2 separate regions of the Homo sapiens genome follow, and region 1 is linked to region 2. The links are contacts of gene promoters, found by promoter capture Hi-C in blood cells and fetal thymus (Javierre and others, 2016). All regions are on one chromosome and are shown on one strand. Each heading gives the region's core, a stretch centred on a gene start or on the middle of the fragment in contact. The rest is flanking DNA. Distances are from core to core; before and after follow the strand shown. Region 1 overlaps HIVEP3 (HIVEP zinc finger 3). Region 2 holds the start of EDN2 (endothelin 2).

The links. Contacts are between HindIII fragments. The CHiCAGO score rates a contact against its expected background, and 5 or more counts as called.
Region 1: a contact is called between a fragment that was not itself captured here and the fragment with the promoter of EDN2 in region 2, in 1 of 17 cell types (erythroblasts). The highest score is 5.1, in erythroblasts.

The regions. Positions count from the first base shown.
Region 1 is chr1:41,846,495-41,851,280 of GRCh38, forward strand. The region is part of intron 1 of HIVEP3 (HIVEP zinc finger 3); the gene reads right to left. Among named protein-coding and RNA genes, the nearest start is that of HIVEP3, 70 kb to the right of the region's middle. The HindIII fragment of the contact is 3,103 bases long and covers 843-3,945 here.
Region 2 is chr1:41,483,322-41,488,145 of GRCh38, forward strand. EDN2 (endothelin 2) reads right to left here and starts at 1,362. Exons shown (of 5, transcript NM_001956.5): 1 at 1,217-1,362; 2 at 726-882. The coding sequence starts at 1,280. RefSeq lists enhancers at 2,469-3,668, 4,106-4,355. The HindIII fragment of the contact is 6,202 bases long and covers 1-4,724 here.

The DNA.
Region 1 (4,786 bases), core at 1,144-3,643, 360 kb after region 2:
CAAGGTTGTATCCGGTGAGGATGACCACAAGCAAGCCAGGCTCATAGCCTAAAGGATACACCTGAACGTGTTCGCTGTGAGGAATGGGCCAGAGGATTATGTGATGTTTCATATTTTTTCCTTGGGACTTTCAGATTTTTCCAAGTTTTCTGCCCTGAGATGCATTACTGAACTTCTGTTTTTCCTCTTACTACACTGTGAAGTAAATGTGTGTGATGAGTCACTGGCCTTTGCCAGGCTGTGATCTTCCCAAGAATGAAGTCCCTATTTAATTCATCTTTGTCTTCTCAGCCTCTTGCCTGGTGCCTTGCAACAGCGGCTCCTCCATAGATGGGTAATGAAAGAATGAACAAATGACTGTTTCTCAGCATCCAATGAGCACTCATGGGATATAGCCACATACTAACCCCAAAGAGACAACACCACTCCCTCATTCACTGCCTGCTCACCTCAGTCATCATTCATGGGTATTCCCTGTTCCAGGCAAGGCAACGGAAGCCAGAGCCACCCAAGTGTGGCTATATAAAGGCATCCAGGAAAGGGCATATGTGGCCTTCCCAGCAACCTAGTCTCTCATGCATTTGGGTTCTGAGCAGTTAATGCTGGCTCCATACTTTGACATCTTTGTAACTTTTGCAAATTTTCTTTTGATTCTTTTCTGGGGATTCATCTTAAGGAAATAATTAGTCATAGGAAGAGGAAACTAAAACCACATTTATTAATGCTGTTTAGGTGGAGAAAAGTTGGAAACAACCTAAACATCAAACCATAAGAGATGAGGTAAACAAAGGATGCTGTAGCTATGTAAATGAGTACTCTTACATTACAATTGCTGTAAACTAAGCTTGTTGCTCTAGAAAGTTGTTCATATAAGATATTAAGTGCCAACGTGTTTTATGAAAGACTATACATGATATTGTGACACTACACTTACATTAAAATATATGTGTACATATTATATATGTATGATACTATATGACTAAATGATCATCTTGTCTTTGGGGTAAGTAGGATTTGGAAGTAGCTTTTTCTTCTTTTTATTTGTCTACACTTCCAAAGTTTTTGTAACAAGCATGTGCTGCTTTGCAATAATGAAAAATAGCAATGCTAACATTTAACTGAAAAAAGAAAAGCACAATTATCCTGGAGTAGGGCAGGCACTAAAAAGGCGGGAGTAAGAGCGATGAGAGTAGAACGCTGAGCTGAGGCTGGCCTCCTTCACGGCCACCTTCCTCCAGGGGTGGATCCGTGTTCCAGTCACCTCCAAACACACAAAGATGTCAGTGCCACAGACCATACTTTCTCTCACACATCCAGTCAAAGCACCAGGAGGGGACAGAGTCACCACAGTGCAAGTCTCAGCTGGGATTGGGCAGGGGAGAGGAGAAGGGCATCAAGGAGCTGACCAGGAGACACACTGATCTGGCCAGGCAGCCTCTTGCAGAAGTGGATCCCGTTAACAATGAAACAGATATGACATGAACTTGGCAACTTCTGAGAACAGGAATGTCTAGTGGTGCTTCTAGCCTAAAGTGACCCAGTTTCAGATAAGACAGTTTAATCCAGAACTCAGAGGGAGAAAAGATTAATATTTTCTCCTAGGGAAGGATACCCAGAGCTACCACAGCTGAAATGGGAATAACATGCTTAAAGGTGGATATGAGATGGCCAAAGTCCCATGAGGAATGGCCTCCAGGTATGATGATGAAATCCAGTGCAGGAGGGAAGGTCTCTTCTCATAGTATCCAATTGCAAAACTGGTCAAAATTCAACCATTTTCTCAGGGTTATTCTAAAAGCTGTTGGACTTGTACTGCTTCTTTGGCTTCTCTGGCTCTTGTTCCAGCTTTTGCAGTTACAAAATGAGAAAGACCTCGCTGTGCTGTCCTCCATTCAGTGGGTTCTGGATGGATTGCCAGATGATGTGAAGGGCTCTTGGTCATGGCTGGTACCTGCAAACACGGAGAGTGCTTATCACCATTGGACTCTACTGTGCCATTTCCATCATGTCAATCATGGATAGACATGAGATAAGGAGGATGGAATCGGCAGTGGGCAGGACACAATAGGAAGCGAGGGAGGGGAGAGGGCAACAGGGTGGAAGGGTAGAGAGAATTGCAGGAAGAAGGAGGGACCCAGGAATGGCCCAACATCCTCAGAGATGAAAGATTACAGAAAGAGGGCAGAAGGCGAGAGCAGAGAGGCCATGCCAGCTTGGGCTGGAGCAGTCAGATTCCTCACCACACCCTTGTCCCTGCTGTGCCCATCTGCTGCCCTTTCTTTGCCTTCTGGCCCTGTAGGAGCCATCCCAGCCCCACATCCCAAGCCCTACCTGTGACTACCCCTCCCCTAAGCCCTACCAGAGAAATGAACTTACTTCTACCCTTCGTGGGCCGCATGCCTCCAGCTCCAGCTCTTCTTGGGGCTCCAGAGTGTGCCAGTTTCCCTTCAAGCACCAGTGTCCTCAACCTCTGGCATGGTATTGGAATCTGTGCCTTCAGAACCTCCTTTCTTCCCATTCTTCAGGACGTTTGTCCCTCGACTGGACAAGATCCAGCAGGAGTGGGCAACACAGGAACAAATCCGAGACACCAGACTGAGAGGGACAGGAAGGGGAAACACGGGGCAGTCCTGGGTGATCTGGACCATCTGGTCACCTCATTCTAGTTCACGAGTGGACATTTAGATAAGGGAAACCAAACTGAATCAGAACTCTAAACTCAGTGTGCAGCAGGGTCACCAGATTGCTTATTCTATGGCACCTGAGACCTTTCATCACCACTGATCTTCACGACAGATGCACGCAGATATATCTACCAAGGACTTAGAAACCCAAGACAGTTTCATACTTTAAAAATGTGTGGAAACTAACCATGCACAAACTTCTCCAATTACATCAGTCTCCCCAGAAGCACATCCAACAGCACTCTGTCACAACTTCTGGAAGCAGCCTGCCTCCTTGCTAACCCCTCCTCCATGCAGATGCTCACCTAGAGGAGTGGATGGGACATAATACCAAGGAGGAGAGTGTGGGTCCAGTCCTAGCACAGGCCAGGAACATTTTCTGCTTTAGAGTCACAGGACTGTTCACCAAGCCAAGCTGAATAAACATCTTATTGCAATATTTGCACAGACATGCAACTACTTGCTGTGACCATGACAGTGACTGGAATGTAAGGATCCATCAGTGGTAGACCCAAATCTTTTTTTTTTTTTTTTCCAAGTCTTGCCCTGTCGCCCAGGCTGGAGTGCAATGGCGCAATCTCGGCTCACTGCAACCTCTGCCTCCTGGGTTCAAGCAATTCTCCTGCCTCACCCTCCCGAGTATCTGGGACTACAGGCATGCACCACCATGCCCAGCTAATTTTTGTATTTTTAGTAGACATGGGGTTTCACCATGTTGGCCAGGCTGGTCTCAAACTCCTGACCTTGGGATCCACCCACCTTGGCCTCCTAAAGTGCTGGGATTACAGGCATGAGACACCACGCCTGGCCGGTAGACCCAAATCTTAAAGCACATACTCTACTCTAGTGGTTCCTAAACTTTAGCATGCATCAGAATCATTTGTAGACTTTGTTAAAACACAGAGTTTTGGTTACACTCCTACGGTTTTTTAATCAGTAGGTCTGGGGTGGAGGCTGACAGCTAGAGTTTCTAACAAGTTCCCAAGCCCAGCTATTGCTGGTCCAGAGACCACACTTTGAGAACCACTGGTCTACCACCAACAGTGTTCAATAGTATCACCTGTCTTATATCAAAGGAACCACTAATGACTCACTCGCACTCAGCCCTGTAACCTCATCCAAAGCAGAGGCACAGAAAAGGCCACCACACACACAAAGAAAAACTGTTTACAAAATGTTTTTATTTTAAGGTTAAGAATAAAAGGAGCCTTAGGGTTCATATAATCTAACTACCTCACTTAATATAATATTAATTAAACTAAGCTTAGAGAGGGTAACTTGCACACAGAAACAATGAAACAATCAATAGAACCCAAACCAGGAACCCCAGCAGCACTACTCTCAAAATCGCAAACGTGGAGTCCTAGAAAATCTCCTAATTTTTGTCGTCATTAGAGTCACAAGGCTCAAGAGTCTGCAACTGGCAAATTAGGGCTTCCCCTTCTGGTCCTCCATGCCGAAGCACTCAGGCCATGCCATGGTCATTTCTTAGTAAGGCTATGATGGAAGCAATTCTTGGTTCCCTCCAAGTTCAACTGTGAGTCCACTGCCTAGAACTCAGAACTGGTTTTCTCAGAAATCCCATAGCACACGTGGAGGGTTCCTGGGAGAACTCTTCCTACTAGGCACCACATTGTTGAACTGCAGTGATGATAGCCCACAGGATCTAACCATCATGAAGAATATAATTTCCTAAAATTCCATTCTGAGTTTCAACTTGGACCTGTGCTGGTCCCTCTTCCTGGAAAACTGCTGCCCCAGTTTTCTCATGTCAGGCTCCTTCTGTATGTTTCCTCTTGCAGAGTATCTCCTGATCATCTACCCAAGTAGTTCTCACTCCCCTCCTGCCAGTTACACTGCATCTCATCAGCCTTCTCTACACTCCTTATAGCCCTAGAACTATATAAAACATTTGTTCATCATCTACTTGCTCATTACCCCCTGAAAGTAGGATGTGAGCTTCGAGAGGGCAGGAACTTTACCTTTCTGTCTACCACTATAACCGCAGCACCTAGAACAGTGCTTGGGACACAGCAGATTCTCTATACATATCTGTCTAATGAACAAATGAATGTACAGAAGAATGATGAGAGAGCACCTTC
Region 2 (4,824 bases), core at 112-2,611:
TAAGCAAGTGTTTGGATGCGGATTAGCTTCACACACGCTTACGTGCAGGGCTTCTCTTGCCTTTTGCAATTTGGGGAGGGGAAAAAATCACAAACACACACAGAAACTTCAACTGAAGGTATGCAGTGGCCTGGAGGCAGTGCGGGTGCAGGCGGAACAGACAGCACGGGGCTCCCACCCGGGTGTAGCCAGTAGCACAGGGCAGGTTCTCATCTGTCGTTTGAGGGACTATCCTGCCTTATGGGGAGGATGGGGGGGCTCCTGAGATGATCATGCACGTGCAGTGCTTGGCAAAGAGCCTGGCATAGTCAAAGCACGGGTGCTGTCACTAATCGTATTATTATTGGAAGAGCATGCAGAGGCAGCATGACAGAGACTGTGAGCTCCGGCATTCCCCAACCGAGGATGGTGCCTACCCTTACAATTACCTGTGTGATCTTGGGGGAGGCGCTTAAGCTCTCTGAGCCTCAGCACTTGAATCTGGAAAACGGGGCCAACACTTGCTTACCAGGCTGTCTTAAGAATTCTCAGAAGACAGCCCTCTCTATGGCTCAGGTGGTCCCCACTCAGGAATTGAAACAATTAACTATTGATATTAGCCAGTGCCTCCATCTGGAGGCCCAGGGAGAGATGGAATGTGTCAACGTTCCCTAGCATGCCAGTAGCTTCCACCCTGACACCCTGCCCCAGAGCTCCCCCTGCCCCCAATCCCCATGGATGCTCACTCAGGAGTGTTCACCCAGATGATGTCCAAGTGGCAGAAGTAGACGCACTCCTTGTCGAGCCAGGAGCTGCAGGAGCAACGGCGAAGCCGAAGGTGGGTGCCTTGGGCATGAGATGAGGACGCTGGCTGCTCCAGGGTGGCAGCAGCCTGGCCCTTCCCTGCATGCACAGGAGGGAGAGAGAGGTGGAGAGGTGGGTTGGGGTGCCTGGCACATCCCAGAGTGGGGGACCCACCATGCCCCTCCTCTTGCATAATCGAGGGAGTTGGCACTCTTGCTGCTCAAGAGCTCCAGGCCAGCCCAGGGAAGTCCCAGCAGCCCGTGGGGAGCCTGGGCACCTCTGTATTTGCAGAACCTTTCCCCTGCCACCACTGCCGCCAGGCTCCCGCCCCTGTCTGCCCCCAGCTGGCTTGGGAGGCACTGCAGCCCTAGAGGGAGACAGAGATAGGCAGACCCAGGAGCTGTAGGCAGCAGGTGAGGCCAGGGCAGCTCACCTTCATGCAGGGCCACGAGCAGGGCTAGCGCAACGGAGCACCAGGTGGTAGGCACGGAGACCATAGCGGCGGTGGAGCGCGCAGGCTGGACTGGAGCAGGGAGTGCCTGTTGCCAGCGTCCTGCTATTAAGCTGAGCAGATAGCTCATTGCCTCGGTGCCCTGGCTGCCTCTTATACCAGGCACGGTGCCCCACCCCTTCTGGTCCAGCCCTGCCCCGCTGCACCGGCGGGCTGGGAGCCAGGGACACCGCCTCCTCCCCGGGCGCCTGGCCCGACCCAGCCTCTGCAGTGAAGGGGGGAGGGAGATGGAAGGCCCATTCCTCCCTCTGTGCCTGGAGCACCTCTGGGAGTCCTGAGGCTCCCTGGCAGTCCCCAGGGGCCCCTCGCAGTCCAGCTGGACTTCCTCAAGTCACCCCCAGCTGCCCCGAGCCCCCTCCCTCACTCTGTTGGCGGCTGCTCCACAGGTCTCGCCCAGGGCTGTGAGTGTGGAGGAGGAGGTTCCATGAGCAAAACCCCTCTCCTCGGAGAAGACTCTGCCATCTATCCTGCCTGCCCTCTGCCAACCAGGCTGAGGATGCCCCTCTGTTGTGTGGGATGTGAAAGGCCCACGCAAGGCTGTGTGGCCTTGGGCGAGTCAGAGCCCTCTCTGGGCCTGCCTCCCTCTGTGAAGGACACAGCTCATGCCTGACTTCTGACCAGCCTGGAACTGCTTCATCCCCACCTCACCCAGGAAATGCCCCCCTCAACCCCTGCCCTGTCACCCCAGGGCCTGGGGCAGGAGTTCTAGTCCCTTCCAGAAGCTGTTCAGCTATGCAGCCATGGCCAAGGGCATCCTTCCTGGGCCTGTTTCCTTGTTTGCAAACAAGGCCAAAACAAGAAGGTACTTCACCTGCTTGGCTTACAGGCTCCTTTGAGACTAAGAAGGTGGCTTCAGACCCCTTTCCAGAAAGATGTCCCTGAGGACACACACACAAAGCGCCCCTTGAACAGTCTCCTGTCCTGGCCATGACAGGATGTCTTGGCTTCCACCGGGGGCTACTGTCTGCAAAAGAAGTAAGCCAGGGGACTTCTCTGGGGACTGGCATTCTGCTCCTGCCCCTCTGCTGGCCCAGAAGCCTTGCCGGGGAGGGGAAAGCAGGGATGAACCACAGCTGTGCTGAGCAGCTCAGGGAACCGGCAGGCACCCTCTGTTCCTGCCCTGGCTGAGAGTCCACTTCCTGCTGGAGTCTTCTCAGGGACCCTGTCTCCAGGCACAACAGGAAAGGCCCTCTCGTTTCTTGGAATTCCCAGGGCCTGTGCCTCTCGTGCCTGCCTGACTCATCCCATTGCACTTATCTCCCCTGCAATCTCAAGGTCCAGAGCCCCAGAGGAGGCAGGGCCTGACACCTACCCTGCACACAGTAGGGGCCTTGCGAGTGCTTCCTGAGGGCAGGGGGGTCAAGAGATGCACACCTGGCTTTCCACTTACAGAACCCAGGATGCCCAATGCTCAGTTCCTGTATTCAGCAGCTCCTTTGTCCTTGGACATTTATGAAGGGGACAGTAGGTGACCACCAGGAACAGGCAAGTTTGCATCTTCCTAGGGTGTGCCCAGAGCAAGCGTGCATGTGTGAAATCCTGGAGAAACTGGCAGAACTGATGGAGGGTGAGAGCAGGATCTTCCTTCCTGGAGACTGAGCTGGCTCCTGTGAAAAAAACAAACAAATGTTTCCTGAGCACCTACTACGTGCTTGGAGCACTATCGACTCTTCCTCACCACAACCCCAGGAGGCAGCTATTATCACAGGGGAGTCAGCTCAGGACTGCCCACGAGGCTCAGAGAGGAGCAGGGCCTGGTCAAGGCCACCCAGCGGGCAGGTGGCTTGGTCTATCAAGCAAAGCACAAGGGACTCCCCGTGAGGTGCTCTCTGCCCTCCCACGTCGTGCCTCTCGAAGAATTTAGAAGAGTATTTCTGGAATGAGGTGAGCAATACTCACAGTCATTTCTATCAGCCTCTGCAAGAATATGAATACGGAATTAAGCAGGGCTGGGGGCTGCTTGGGGGTGGATAGAGAATTCAAATCGCTGGACCGTGAAGAGAAGAAAGAAGGAAAAGCAGGTCAGCGGGGAGACGGAGGGGGTCACGGTGGGGAGGAAAACAAACAGGGAGGCAGATAAAGACAGGCAGGGAGAGAGGGGGAGAATGAGGAAGCAGTGCGTAGCCAGAAAGAAAGAACTCAGATTTGAGAAAGTAAAAGAGGGAAACCATAGGGAGAAGAGGGAAGGTTATAAAGCGTCTAATCTTTACACAAATGCAAAACGCCTGCTCAAGACAATAGGGAACCAGAGGCTCCGAGCCGGGGAAACATAATAGAAGCATTAAATGAACCCAGAGACAGGATCCCTCCCGGGTGTGAAAGAAGGGTGACTACAAGGCAGGGGCTGCTGCCCGAGCCCCGCAGGGTCAGCACAGCCAGCTGCGAGCTGGGCCGGGCTCCGGTTTCTCTCCTTCTCTGCCCTCTGCCTGAGCTGAACAAGCAGGGCTCCTGTGAAATGGAGAGGACTGGCCCAGGAACCTAAGCGAGCACAGATCTTAGGGGATGAAGCCATTCCCGGAACAGCGCTGCTCCACTGACAAGAGTTAGTTTCCAGGTAGGGAAAATTAAGCTGAGTTAAAAATAGCCCCATCTCCCTGGGTCGCTTAGCCTGGGCCTCTGTCCGTTGCCTCTGCCCCTCGTGGCTGGTCGGACTGCATGACCCTGCCACCTATAACTGTCCTGGCCTCACTGTCCCTGTCCTTTCTAGGTGGCCTGGCTTCACGACCCCCTGGCCCCACTTCTCTGGCCCTGGCACCTGCCCGAGTTTGTTGAGGCTGCAGGGGGAAGGGCAGGGAGCCACCGAAGGTCACCCTCTCAGAATTTGAAGAGAATTGCTTTACTCGCTAAGCGATTTGTTTCCCTTATGCTTGCAGCAGCCCAATCCAAGAAAGAGGGATGTATGGGGAGGGAGGGCTGGCAGAAGAGAGCAGTTGAGTGTATTTCTGAGTCAGACACTGGGCTAGAAACTTCCCCCTAGAAATCCCCGTCTCCACTCCCATTTGGTAGATGAGATAACTGAGGTGCAAGAGGAGGAGCAACTGGCTCAAGACACTGATGGGGCTGGGTGTGTTCTCTTGGTTCCTAACCTGCCTCACCCTTTCCTGTACACCCGTGAAGCTCTCCCAGGGGTCCAAACTGAGCCCAGGATCCTGGGTCCCTTGGAGAAAGGCCGTCAGGAAGGACCCCACTGGCAGGAAGGCTGGGGCATTGGGATGAGGTTAGGCTGTCTCTCTGTGCACCCCAAAGCTCCCTCTATAGTCCCAGCTCTAAGAGCAAATATGGTCCCGTCAAGCAGCTGTCCAGCAGCTGTGGACACTGAGCTGAATGGAGGTTGCATGGGAGTGAAGACTAAGTCTCCTAGTGATGCCTGACACAACAGGGCTGGGCTGCAGCAGGTGCCTGGGATTGCAATCGAGGCCCTGGACCAGGAAGCTTTGTCCCAGCTCTGCTTTTCATGACATGTGGCCTAGGGCTCCTCTCCCTGGCCTCAGGTGTCCCGCCTTCCCATTGATGGCGAGAGATGCTTTCAC